Regions from separate parts of the Homo sapiens genome. Here region 2 is linked to region 1. The links are contacts of gene promoters, found by promoter capture Hi-C in human tissues and cell types (Jung and others, 2019). All regions are on one chromosome and are shown on one strand. Each heading gives the region's core, a stretch centred on a gene start or on the middle of the fragment in contact. The rest is flanking DNA. Distances are from core to core; before and after follow the strand shown. Region 1 holds the start of GRXCR2 (glutaredoxin and cysteine rich domain containing 2). Region 2 has its middle 41 kb from the start of YIPF5.

Evidence for each region. The method cuts DNA at HindIII sites, captures the fragments that hold promoters and counts their contacts. A contact is called where the count stands out against the background at its distance.
Region 2: a fragment that was not itself captured here is called in contact with the fragment with the promoter of GRXCR2 in region 1 in 1 of the 25 tissues and cell types used here (spleen).

Annotation. Positions count from the first base shown.
Region 1 is chr5:145,869,098-145,876,233 of GRCh38, reverse strand. It overlaps GRXCR2 (glutaredoxin and cysteine rich domain containing 2), which reads left to right and starts at 3,220. Exons shown (of 3, transcript NM_001080516.2): 1 at 3,220-3,601. The coding sequence starts at 3,266. The HindIII fragment of the contact is 8,071 bases long and covers 1,195-7,136 here.
Region 2 is chr5:144,126,517-144,133,652 of GRCh38, reverse strand. No RefSeq gene overlaps it. Among named protein-coding and RNA genes, the nearest start is that of YIPF5, 41 kb to the left of the region's middle. The HindIII fragment of the contact is 3,922 bases long and covers 1,617-5,538 here.

The DNA of each region.
Region 1 (7,136 bases), core at 1,971-4,470:
TATGTGTGTGTGTGTGTATATATATATATATATATATATATACACACACACACATACAATTTTTTAAGAGATAGGGTCTCACTTTGTCAACCAGGCTGGAGTGCAGTGGCATAATTGTAGCTGGCTTTAGCCTCAAACTCCTGGGCTCAAGCAATCCTCTTGCCTCAGCCTCCTGAGTAGCTGGGACTACAGACAAGCACCACCATGCCCAGATAATTTTTAAAAAACTTTTTGTAGAGACAAAGTCTCATTTTGTTGCCCAGGCTGGTCTCAAACTCTTTGGCTCAAGCAACCCTCCTGCCTCAGCCTCCTGAGTAGCTGGGATTACAGATGTGGGCCACCATGCCCAGCTTGATATTGTTCTATACAGTGAAGTAAATGAATAAGGCTAATGTAGTCCTGGGGGACACCTGGCTGCCATGAGGGCTGAGAGTTCAAGGTCTCAGTCTCCTGTGATTCATTGATGGTGTGTCCCAGACAACTCTGCATCCTGGGGGAGTTACAATGTTATGAAAAGTGTATCTTTCTTTTTCTTTAAACATTGTTTCCCTAGTTCTTCTCTCCCACCTATTTCTGTACCAGTTACACAGGGAATTTACAACTGTGACACCTCTCCTTAGTAGAAAGGTAGATTAAAAAAAAAATCTTCTGATCCTACCTCTTCACTATTCTTTATTTATTTTTTTTTGATGGAGTCTCGCTCTGTCACCAGGCTGGAGTGCAGTGGTGCAATCCTGGCTCACTGCAACCTCTGCCTCCTGGCTTCAAGTGATTCTCCTGCTCTAGCCTCCCGAGTAGCTGGGACTATAAGTGCCTGCCACCACACCCTGCTAATTTTTGTATTTTTGGTAGAGATGAGGTTTCACTATGTTGGCCAGGATGGTCTTAATCTCTTGACCTCGTGATCCACCTGCCTCGGCCCTTCCAAAGTGCTGGGATTACAGGCGTGAGCCACCGCGCCCAGCCACCTCTTCACTATTCTATACAAAATATGCTCAATTCCTTTTTGAAAAGCTTTGTGTATTTGGTTTCTCTCACTTGAAGTCATTCATTTAACAATTACTGAGTTCTATTATGTACTGGGCACTTTGATAAACACTGGGAATAGACAGATAGTAAGGACAACTTCTGACTGCAAGATGTTCACAGTTGAATGGAGGGAAAAATAGGAAGGGCAAGGGAAAGTGAGAAGCATCTGAATGGCGGTAGGTCCGAAAGTCCCATGGCACTCTCCCTGGGGAAGGTGGGAAGGCTGCCCAGAAGCAGTGACATTTGAGGTGTGACTTGAAGGAGGAATGGAAATTTGACACTCTAAATCAGGAGACAGAGTACTGGATAAGAGACAGAAACTTGTGGGTTTGAGAAATGGGTAAGCTTGTTGGTGTAACTGGAACACCAATCCCAGGCAGCCCCTGGAAGAGTGACAGAGGGCAAGGCTGGAAAGGAAGGAAGGTGAGGCTGGTTTTTGAGGGGCTTTGCTTGTCACATGGAACAGTTAAGACTTAAGCCCTGATGCACTAGAAAAGATTTTTCAGCAAGAGACTGACACCTGTGGATTTGTTGTTTTGGACTATTGCTCTCACATCAATATGGAGAATGGAATTGGGGGTGAGTAGGGAAGTCCTTGGGAGACAGCTGCAACTTTAAAAATCAAAGTGATGAGGGTTTGCCCTAGGGCCAGGGTGATAGGGGTAGATGAAAGAAGGCAGTGGTGAAAGAATCCATGTGAATGGGCTGGGTGCGGTGGCTCATGCCTGTAGTCCCAGCACTTTGGGAGGTCAAGGCAGGCGGATCACGAGGTCAAGAGATTGAGACCATCCTGGCCAACATGGTGAAACTCCATCTCTACTAAAAATACAAAAATTAGCTGGGCATGGTGGCGTGTGCCTGTAGTCCCAGCTACTCGGGAGGCTGAGGCATGAGAATTGCTCGAACTCAGGAGGTGGAGGTTGCAGTGAGCCGAGATCGTACCACTGCACTCCAGCCTGGCAACAGAGTGAGACTCCGTCTCAAAAAAAAAAAAATAAAATAAAATAATAAAAAAAAAGAATCCAAGCGAATGGCTGTAGGGGAATAGGAGGGGTCAATTTGGGTAACTCAGTAAATGGTGATGCTGGTAGCAAAGACAGGGAGAAAGGCTTTACTCCACTTTCAGCTCCTCACATCCAACCTACCATTTTCTACCCAGCCCAAGGGCCCTTTTCTTTACAAACCTTCTTCCATCCTTGTCTCCTTAGAGACCACTTCCTTCCCAGAGTGGCTATTCTGGGATTCAGCTGTGGGCAGTTTGCTCTCTAAGCATGAGGTTATTATTTCACCTGTGTGAGGTCTGTATGGGATTGTAGGACTGTTCTCAGGCCCAGGTCACATGCTTCTGTGCTATTCACTCCAGCCACTAGTTCAGTGTCAGGCATTTACGAAGTCCAACAGGCAATGGGGACTTGTGCTGTGATTGCAAATGAAATCTTAAATGTAAAATACATACCAAGTGGAGGTGCTCTGGTTAGCGTAGGGGGAGAAGGCCCAGAATCCAGGACCCTCGGCCTTCTCCTGTTCTTAGCAGCAGCCTCCAAGAACCTCCACTGTATCTAGGACGTCATTCCCTCTTCTAGAACCAGAACTGGAAAACTTCTGGTTGTGTGGGCTGATCTTGGGTTTTGGAGTCAGATAGATCTGGGTTCAAATCCCTGCTCTGTCACTTACTTAGGTGTAATAGAGCAGACAAATGATGAAGATAAATGACAAGTGGCTCTAAGCCTCACTTTCCCCTGTGTAAAACAAAGGTAAGATTTTCTTTGTAGGGTTATCGTGAGGATGAAATAAAATAATGCATGTAACAATCTCTGGTACTTATGAAATGCTCACTAGATTTTAATTGTCATTGCTAACAATAAGAAGACACTTGTTAACTAATTGAGTGTCTGATCCTTATTGAATTGGCACATGTTCAGTCTAAATAAACTTCTTCATCCTCAGGTTAAGAAAGGTTAGGGTTGGGGTGAAGTCATGGTGAGCTTGGGATTATGAGAAGAATCAATCTTGTCTTATATTCCATCCACTCCATCAAACCAGAATCACCTGCCTTTTCATGAGGGTCTATCAATATTTAATGTATGGGTGTCAGTTGCTGTAAACTGACCATACCCCAGCAACAACTTGAATTAATTATATGCAGGAGGAGAGAAAATAAAATGCCTTTTTCTCAGAGGCCCAAGTTTCACCGGCTGCACGGAAGGCTGGAGACCACAGGGTCAACTTTCTGCTGATGGAGGACCCTGAGAAAAAGCTGAATCAGAAGAGTGATGGCAAACCCCGGAAAGTACGATTTAAAATCTCCTCCTCCTACAGCGGTCGAGTATTGAAGCAGGTCTTTGAGGATGGGCAGGAATTAGAGTCACCAAAGGAGGAATACCCTCACAGTTTTCTGCAAGAGTCTCTTGAAACAATGGATGGTGTTTATGGGTCTGGGGAAGTCCCCAGGCCCCAGATGTGCTCCCCTAAGCTGACTGCTCAGAGGATCAGTGTGTTTAGAGAGGGTAATGCCTACACCTTGGCAGGCGGCCAGCCTCGGTTCAACGATTACAAGGCGAATGACCATAAGGTTGGTATTGTGCATGGCATATAGGCTTTAAGGGTAGGGCTTCCTAAAACGTGTTTAGAGAAACTCCTAAATGGTTCAGATTTGTGTCTTGCTCCCCCTCCGGTACCAACCAGAACTGTTGGTGCACCAAATGGGAAGTTGTTATTAGACGAATATTTCTGGGGTAAAAATAACATGCTTGTTGACTACTAATTGGAAAGTGCAATGAGCATATATAGTATTCAAATTCCATCCAAGGTAATACATTGTAATTGGATCTTTGACTGAGTTTTCCTGGAATGTAAATTAAATAGAGGTGCAGTGGTTTTCAGGTTGTCAGACTGCGGTTTTAGACAATTATGCAGTCATTTTGTTTCCTGAAAGAGCTGAGTATTTGAAAGTGCTCATTTTACTCCAGCCAATTACTCAGCTTGCAGTTTATCCATGTCTTGTTTTTTACCCCTATTGCCTTCCTCATACTGCCTGCTTTGTCTATTTATTTTTCCTTTCCATTGCTCCTTAGCATAAGCTCTGGGTAGTTGGAGTCCTGGGAAGGGATGGTGAAACGCAAATCAGCCAGAGGATATGTTATGTGAGGAAGAAGTTTGAGCTAATGGTTCGATTGAAGAATGTGTTTAATCTATGAATTTCAATTACTTCCCAGTACCATGGATAATCAAAAGTCCATACATGATTTTCTTTTAAGGTAGAACCTGGAAAACATACACTGGTATCCAAAAATTCATAGGAGATGTATATATGCTGTCAGTGGGACCATGAATGACTTCTTAAAAAAGATAAAATACAATTATATAATGTATCCACGTTATTAATGAATAGCACACCAGGATGTGTTCTCATCTTTAAAGTGTGAAAGCCAGATAATTACTCTTGAATTATTTTTATTGTTAGTTTCCTAAGGGAATAGATAACACATCTATTGCAGACAAATGTATTACTGGCTTTACTGGCATTGGTAAAAGTATAATTATGGGCATGTTCACAATTACCGAAGATAACACTAGGCTTGTTTTTGATATTAAAAGGGGCTGAAATGAATGACCTCTTATCTTAATGGGGTGACGTATGCAGTACAAAGTGTCATCATGTACTATCTCTGTCTATATCTATGGCATTGGGTCTTTACTATAACCTTGGGGAGAAAGGCCAAAGTATGGTCATTCCCATTTTGCAGAAGAGAAAAATTGAGTGCCAAGTTGTTAAGGGATCCATCTGATACTACAGGGTCATTGGGTACAGAGTCAGAATAAGAATCCAGATCTTCTGATGCTACAAATGTTTTGCTTTAGGGCATGTTCCTTTTTTTAGAGAACCATATTATTACATAATAATAATAGCTACCATTTGTTGAGTGCTTATTAGGTCCTAGGCACTTGGCTAGTCTTGTACTTATACTATTTCTTTTTAACTATGTCTTATTTGTAGATTTAGAATTTACAAAGTCACAGTTCATGCAAACCTTATGCAAGGCCACAGTAGATAAATTTTGGGTTGCTTGATCTTCATAAGTCATGTGCTAAATTTAGCATTTATGAAAATGTATAATTTTTTTTTTCTTTTTTAGAGACAGGGTCTCATCTGTCAACCAGGCTGGAGTGCAGTGGTATGATCATAACTCACAGCAATCTCAAACTCCTGGGCTCAAGGGATCCTCCTGCCTCAGCCTCTCTGGTAGCTAGGACTATAGAATTTATAAATCTAGGTAAATGAGTCTTCATGGCAGCATGGCTCAGTTGGTTAAAACACAGTACTCTATGTGTTTTAGAGGCCATGTTGAAGGTCTGATTCCTGCTTGGCCTCATTATCTCTGTTTTCTTTGTTTCCTGATCAAGTGCCCCATCCCAATCATAGCCAGATTCTGAGCATGAGAGTGACCAGGATGGATTCATGTAGCTGCACACCCTGGAATCATTTGTCAATGTGGTATTTATGAAAAAGAAGAAAATGAGAGCTAATGTCATGACTTTTCAATAACGAATCCAAATGTAAAACACTTCCTAGTAAATATTGGCTATGAGACCACATTGGGTAGCAATTAAGTGCAATAATTCAAAGCAAGGGCTCTGAACTCAAACAGATATATGTACAACATTGTTCATAGCAGCATTATTCTCAATTGCCTAAAGGTGGAAAGAACCCAAATGTCCATAGACTGATGAATGGATAAACAAGATGCGGTATGTACATACAACACAATATTATTCAGTCTTGAAAAGGAAGGCCATTTTGACACATGCACAATGTGGTTGACCCTTGAAGACGTTATACTAAATGAAATAAGCCAGTCACAAAAACACAAATACTGTATGATTGCACTTATTTGAGGTACCTAGAGTAGTCAAAATCATACAGACAGCAAGTAGAATGGTGGTTGGCAGGGGCTGGGGGCAGGGGAGAAGAAGAGTCATTGTTTAATGGATACAGAGTTTCAATTTGGGAAGAAGAAAACGTTCTGGAGATGAATGGTGGTCATGGCTGCACAGTAATGTGAATGCACTTAATGTCACTGAGTTGTACACTTAGAAAGGGTTAAAATGGTAAATTCTATGTTATGTACAGATTACCATGATAATATATATATATATCTTTTTAAAAAACAAGGACTTTGATACCTGTCAAACCTGAGCTTGATGTTCAGTCCTACCCATTTACTGGGTAAGCTCGAACAAGCTAGTTAACCCTGTTGACCTTCAACGTCATTGTGATATGAGGGTAATCAAAGGAGTTGCTTAAGAGTTGTTGTGATGATTTTAAAAGATAACACATAAGAAGCTCAGGCCAGGCACGGTGGCCCACACCTGTAATCCCAGCACTTGGGGAGACTGAGGAGGGCAGATCACGAGGTCAGGAGATGGAGACCATCCTGGCTAACATGGTGAAACCCTGTCTCTACTAAAAATACAAAAAATTAGCCAGGTGTGGTGGCGGGCGCCTGTAGTCCCAGCTACTCGGGAGGCTGAGGCAGGAGAATGGTGTGAACCCGTGAGGCGGAGCTTGCAGTGAGCCGAGATTGCACCACTGCACTCCAGCCTGGGTGACAGAGCAAGACTCCGTCTCAAAAAAAAAAAAAAAAGAGAGAGAGAGAGAAAGAAGCTCTTAGCATTGTGCCTGGCACATTTTATGTGCTTAGCGAATGTTACCCACCATTGTAATAACGAGCAGGTTCTTATCAAAGAAATGTTGAGTCTTTTAAATTTTATGTGATGGGTAGAGAAAAAGGTTATAAATAATAAAAATATTTTAAGCAATTAAAACTGAAGTTTATAAGGTTCAAAGAAAATGGAAGGGAAAAGGAAGGGAGGTAACATTTACTGAACACCTACTTTATACATATTGCATAATTTCATCTTCACAACATTTCTATGAGTGTTTTACAGATTGGAAAAACGGAAGTTCATAAGGATTAACTAACTTGCAAACCTCATACAGTTGTCAAACAACATTTTAATACAATCTGAACTCAGGTCTGTCTATCTCCAAAGCCCACTGAATTTCTAGTACCCAATAAGGCTTTCTGCATTTAAAAACAGAGCAG
Region 2 (7,136 bases), core at 2,328-4,827, 1.7 Mb after region 1:
TTATCTACTAGTTTTATTTTTCTAATACTTATTAAGATAAATACATAACTATTAAAATATAAAAATGCACGCCAACTGGAAACATCTTAAATCCAGCTTTTAGCCAAAGTAAGGGTCACGTGCCCCTGGCTGGATTTAAGTGAGAGGTGTGTGCCCCTGGTACTAGAGTAAAGAAGAGACTGGCTAGTTCATAATATGTTATGCCAGCTCAGCAGATTGATTTGATTAGGAAGGGTGATGTGGAGTCCAGCACAGCGCTGACTTTAATGCATGATCCCCACCATCAAGGTGCTGAATGATGGCTTAGATTAGTTTTCCTGTTCGTAAATCAGTAATGATACTGACAATGACAGGAATAAGAGCTATCATATGATGAGTGCTTGATGTGTGGCAGGCACTGCACTTGGCACTTTACATTCATTTGCTCATGAAATCCTCACAGCACTTTATAAGTTCTATTGTTATACCCATTTTAACAGACTCACAGAGATTAGATGTCTTATCAGAGTTCTAGCTTTTTGGTTAGGAGAAAATATCACAAGAAAGCTGCTTCATGTAATTGAAAGAGAACTTTTCCCAGACTTAGAAGGCCAGGGCTTTGGTGCCAACTCAGTCATTCATTCACTATGGACTGCAGAAGAGTCTCTTAAACTCTCCAAGCTACAGGTTCCCTTCTGTGAGGCGTTTACACTCAATGGTCTTTTAGATTATTTGTAAACTGGAGACTCTTCATCTATTTCCTTATCCGTAAAGAGGAGCTGGTAATACCAACCTCACAGGATTATTGTGAAGATTAAATGTGGGTAAAGTGCCTAGCCCTATAATTGACACCTAGTAGAATGCAATAAGTGGGATTATAAATAAAAATAAGATTAATCATAATCATCTTGATAACGACTTTGATAATCTTCAAAATAGATAATTTATCCCCAAATAAATATGAGTGAATTAATTATATCACCATATAGAAAGGAGTGTGCTAGCTGACTATCTTTTTAAGCAGGTCAGTTCAGTTTGATTTCTACATGCTTCCATATGTTTAAATCAGAGGCTGAGTACATACCCTTCACTGGTGTGGTAGTTAGCCTCCAAGATTATCCCCATGATTCTAAGTGCCCTTGGTAGTCTCCTTCTACATTAACAAGGGCTGACCTGTATAACCACTAAGATATTATGGAAATTGTGTGACTTCTGAGGCTAGATCCTAAAAGACATTATGGCTTCTGCCTTACTCTCTCAGGGATTGCTCATGAGGATACTCAAGAAGCCCTGTAGAGAGGCCCACATGATAAGGAGCCATGTGAGTGAGCTACCTTAGCTGTTGACCCTCCAGCCACAGTCAAGCTTTCAGATAACTGCAGCCCCAGCCAACATCTTGAATGCAATCTGCTGAAAGACCCTGCACCAGTACCACTCAGCTGGGCCACTTCCAAATTCCTGACCTACAAAAACTCTGAGATAGATGGTTGGGTTTTGTTAAGCCACTGAGTTTGGGGTAATTTGTTTTATAGCAAAATGAATTACTGCAAAGATTAAAGAAAATATTTTTTAACTGAAAGCATATAGTCTCAGTGGTACGTCTAATCCAGGCCACCAAGAAACTGTGAATGTTCAAAGGGAGGGCAGAAGGAATGGCAGAAGAGGCATGAAGATCTCTGCAGCACATGAGGGAAAGCCCTTTGGCTCTCTAAGAAAATCTTCCTAGTGGCAGGAATCAGCAGAAATTTTCAACAGGTTTTGCTCACCAAGTGTAGGGGCTCTTCAGAAGCAGCAGGGATGGCACCAAAGGAGATGCATCTGCAAACATATCAAATCTACCAAAAGTCTTTTCAGCAGTACCAAAGTTTAAGGCAATAGTTTGGAATGAGTCTTATTTGGACAGCCAAAGCTTCATCTTACCAGCTATTTAGTCCTGATGATTTTTGAATAATAAAATATGTTAGAATAATTTTCCACTTAGCAATGGTCATTCATGAATGGGCAGCATTACCATTCATATCCCTCTGTTAAAAATAGGCTCATTTTCTTGCTTTTAAAAAATCTCGTTGTATATTGTGGGCATAGATTTGGAACACTGTGAAACGTGGTTAATTTGGTAGCACTTTATATCATGCCATCTTGTAATAATGCCTCTTAGGAAACGGCCTTAAGGATATTATGCAAAAGGTACTTTGAAGAGGGTGGAGAGGAAGAGATTACAACTTCCCTTTTGCAGTCAGCTCCTGTCTCTGATGTGTAACCCTAGTGTCTACTGCCTGGTTTGCCTTTTTCTGTATTGTCCGTGTAAATACCATCCTGGGTCTTCTGATTTGAGAATCATTTTCTCCTACTGTGTTTTGGAGAAAATTGAGCATGTGTTATATCTAGTCCTGGTCAGTGTCATCTCCACCCCCTGCCTTAGCTCCTTTGGTCACCCTTTTTGAGAACCATTTTGCCACCACCTTCTTCCTTCATTTTCCAAAGCCCCATTAACCCCAAAGCTAGTCAACTTGCTGTGTATGGGGATAATAGAAAAGTATTCACCTCAGCTTAGACATGTCTCATTTTCATCATTTAGGTTTCCCTTTAAATGCCACTTTAAAGGGCTTCTAGGACCAATCTTTCAAAAGTGGATCCTGCCTAGTTATTTGCCAACAAAATACTCGGCAAATACCTTTCCTGCCATTCACTACAGCCTATAACTACATTTATTTACTAATCCTAGAGGCAGACTACATGAGTTCTAATCTCAACCTCACCATTTACTAGCTAAAGGGTCTTAGGCTAGTTAATTTTTTTTGTGCTTTAGTTTTGCATCTGTGAAATGAAGAGCTCATTGTTGTGAGGTTGTTGTGAGGATTAAAGGAGTTAATACATATAAAGCACTGAGAACAGTGCTTGGTGCATATTTAATGCTATATACATATTATAAATATTATAAATATTACTATTATTATTCTCCCCCTCCCGAGAACACAAAATCCTGGAAAACAGAGATCTTGTCTCTCTTTTTAACGTTGTAACCCCAGCTCCAAGCATATGGCCTGGCCCATAAGAAGATGTTTCCTTGCCAGAAATTAACACGGAAAGCCAGACATTGCTATTCTCAATAATTTACAGCAACCCCATCATGGGAAATTTCTCCATGGCCATGTTTTCTTGGATTCTGCCTGTCATTACTTTGCTCAGGCCCATCTGTCTCCTAGGCTCTCCATCTCTCCAGATGCAGGTGCAGACCCACATTTCTTGTTGTTTACTCAGGCACAAAAATTACAGCTTTCAGCTCCCCCTTAGACTATGCTTCAGGTCTATCCTTGCATATCCAAATACCGGATTTCTTTTCTTTTCTTTCTCTCTTTCTCTCTCTCTTTCTTTCTTTCTTTCTTTCTTTCTTTCTTTCTTTCTTTCTTTCTTTCTTTCTTTCTTTCTCTCTTTCTTTCTTTTTCTTTTTCTTTCTTTCCTCCTTCCTTTCTTTCTTTCCTCCTTCCTTTCTTTCTTTCTCTCTCTCTTTCTTTCTTTCTCCTTTCTTTCTTTTTTATTATCTATCTATCTAATCTTACATATATATGTATGACCATTAGCCATCAAAAATATGTGAATATGGTTCATCCCCTAAGAGGAGGAGACAGGGTATTTTTAACAACATTTTTTCTTCCTATACTAAATTATTTATTTCTATTAAAAAAATTATGTTATAGAAAATCACATCAAAAAACAGAAAATTAAAAATTACAGAAATCTATATTAGATTATATGCATAATCTACTAGAAAATATGGAATATTCAAAATTTTAAAATATAAGTTAAGTTTTCCCATAGATCCTCCATATAATATATATACAAAATCACTGTCAACATTTCTGTATGTTTCCTCCACTTACTTCTAGTCTTTTCTTTATGGCTTTGGCGTGTGTGTGTGTGTGTATGTGTGTGTGATAGCAGGGGTGTAACCAGTCATACTGTATCATGACCTTTTCATTCAAACTTCTGTTTTTAAAGTAAGTAAAATATTTATTTATATCCATCCCATAGATATAATTGTGCATCTACTGACTAGAATATCAGGCACCAGACAGAGGTTGACACCATGAATAGGACAAGGCCTTCAGATCCCAAAGTTCTTACCCATATACCACGCAGCCACAGCCTCCATGACTTCAGACTAAGGACTAGTGAAGAGTTCAAAGCAGTACCTCACAGGCAGGTTTTGTGTTAATTCCACATGGAGACCTCCCATTACAATCACAGACTTATTTCTTCCAAATGCACTCTGGTTGCTGCAATACTGAAAGGAGGTTTACCTGAAAAGTGTCTTCCTTCCTCCATGTAATGACTGTGCAGACTAAAGAGAATGGATTTTACAGCTCAGGCTAATTATGTAGTATTAACACAGTGCTATCAGGGGAAAGTCTGCTGCCTGCTTGTGCTAAAAAGTCCTCCCACAGCTCCAAACCTGTACACTGTTTGTGATGATTTTGATTTCCCAGCTTCACCCACACCATCCCCCAACGCAGAAACTCTCAAGAAGAGAGACTTTGCCTTCTTGGGTCACCATCCTCTGACTTCTTTTAGTTCCCTAATTATCCAACTCTTACCCTCCTCCAAGCTTTTCTCTTGGCTTTTCTTCTACGCAGCTGCTTTCCCAGAACTATTCACTCAGATGCTAGTCCACGGTCACGTTGAAGCTGAAATACCAGAGATCTCAGAGAAGCCCCTCCTGACCAACCTGTGCAAAGTAAATTTCTCTTATTATTCTTTCTCTTAGCACCTGGGTTTTTTATTTTGTCTTCCCATTATTGCACTTGTCCAATATTTGTTTGATTTCTTTTTTTTTTTTTTTAACACCCATAGAACTAAGGATCCTTTGGGGGCATCCATTTTAATATTTTTAATATGTATAGACTTTTATTGGATATGTCTTTTCAAAATATAAATTGTTTTGTGTACATGTATTTTTAATTTGTGCAAGTGGTACTTGGCTATAGACCTTATTCTGTTTTCTCCTTTTCTCACTTTGTTTGTATAATATATTTTTTCTTGATTATGACTGCTACATAATAATCAATGGTGTGGATCTACCACATTTTCCTCACTCCTTCTCCTAGTGATGGGTACCTCTAGCTCCCTGCTACCACAGACAATATTTCTATGAACCTTACACATGCCCTTTTGTGAACCTGAGAGAAATCCACTGGTATGTAGAACCTGCAACAGCACTGGTAGGTTACTGGGTTTGTGGCTTATGTAGAGCTAATTTGACCAATTTGGGCCTAGTTCCTTGCAAAAAAGCTACAGTGGTGCACAGTCACACCAGCAATACATGGAGGGTCCTGTATTTCCACATTCCCTCCAACCTTTGGCGATATCCAGCTTCCTAATTTCTGCCAGTTTAATGGGTATAAAGTAATATTTAATTGTTTTAATTTGAACTTTTCTTGATCATCATGATTTTGAGCAGCTCATTTCTGGGTTTGTTAACTTTTGGAGTTTCCTTTTCTGTAAATTTTCTATTCAGATCATGTACTCATTTGCAATCTTTTTCTTCTTGATTTACAGGACTTTCTTGCTTATTCTAAAAGATATTAGTCTTCTTTTTCTTCTTTGACATTACAAATACCTTATCATATTCTGGCAGCCTTCTGTTAAATATGTACATGGTATCGGTCACTGACAAAATTCAATCTAGGTGTAATAAAATGCATCACTATTTAAAACCTGACAGATTGTGCTTTTAGAGGTTGATTTACACTGTCTGTGTTCTATGTGTTGGCCTCATTTTTCCCTATTGTACATAGGCTTCTTCCCTGCAATGACGGAAGAGGGCTGCCAGCAGCTCCAAGATTAAAAAGTCCTAGCTTTACAACCAAGCCATCAAAAACTCTGGGTTTGAGTCCTATTGGCCTAGCTTGGGTCCCATGCCTACACTGGGCAGCCAAGCAGAGATAGCCCTTGAGGTCACCAGCACCATGGCTTCAAACCCACTCAAAACACAGGGATTAAGAGATGGGAATGGAGTGATATCTCAGAGGAATATCAAGACATTTTTTTTCAACAGTAGGAAAACGAATGCTGGGCCTGCAAAATCAAAAGATGTTCATTATAAAAAGGCACTGTCTTTCTTATCGTTCATCAGGTAAATTAGTATTGTCACATTCTCCAGATACTTTTTCTGGTCCCCATCCCCAGACTCAGTTTAACATTTCTTAAACATTCTATAGTACCCCTGTACTCATCTGATAGAACTCGGGGATTTAATCCCCAAAATGGGTAATCCAGTCAGGAAGCAACCAAGGAGATCACCCAGACCAGTGGTTCCCAAACTAGGCTGAGCATTAGAATCACTCAATGAGCTTTAAAAATACAAACTCCTAGGCTTTGCCGAAAACCTGCTGAAATAAAAACGCTGCAGCGCGGAAACCTGGAAATTGTGTTTTAAAATATTATTTGTTGTCAGTCCACAGATGGAGAATCACAGTGAGAATCACAATCTCCTCATTTTACAGAAGAGAAAGCTTGAACCTGAGGGATGATCCCCCCAAAATGTAGTGAACTCGGGGCGCCTGATCTATTCAGCTGTTGTTGCTTTATGTGTGTGTTTTCTTGCTGCTGGACATCGAGCTCTCTTTGAACCTTTTGGAAAAGAGGCTAGTGAATACAAATGTAACTATCTCAGGATTTATCATTTGACAAAAAAGCTCAGGCTCTCATCTCTGTGCTTTATCTTACTCAGAAATCTTGGCAGACCTGCAACCATGGAAACACAGGTCCTACAGTCCACATCAACTCCAGATCTAGCTGCCCTGGACTTCTAAAGAGCAGTCTCCTGATGCTCGAGGAAGTTGTAGAATGCTTCTCGGTGCTTTCTATTCAGCATTGCAGGTGTTTAGGAGCTGAGCCTCAGGAGTCAGCCACTCCTGATTGAAATATTGGCTCTGTCACTTACCAGGTGTGTGACCCTAGGCGATGTGCATGTCCTCTATGTGATGCTGCATGCACCTCAGGGACTCTTTGTGAGGATGAAATGGGATAGTGCATTTCAAGTGTAAGCCCAGAACTTCACACCAAGAAAGTGCTCACTAAACATTGGGGGGTTCGGTCTTTTTTTTTTTTCGGGTGGGGGACAGAGTCTCATTCTGTTGCCAGGCTGGAGTGCAGTG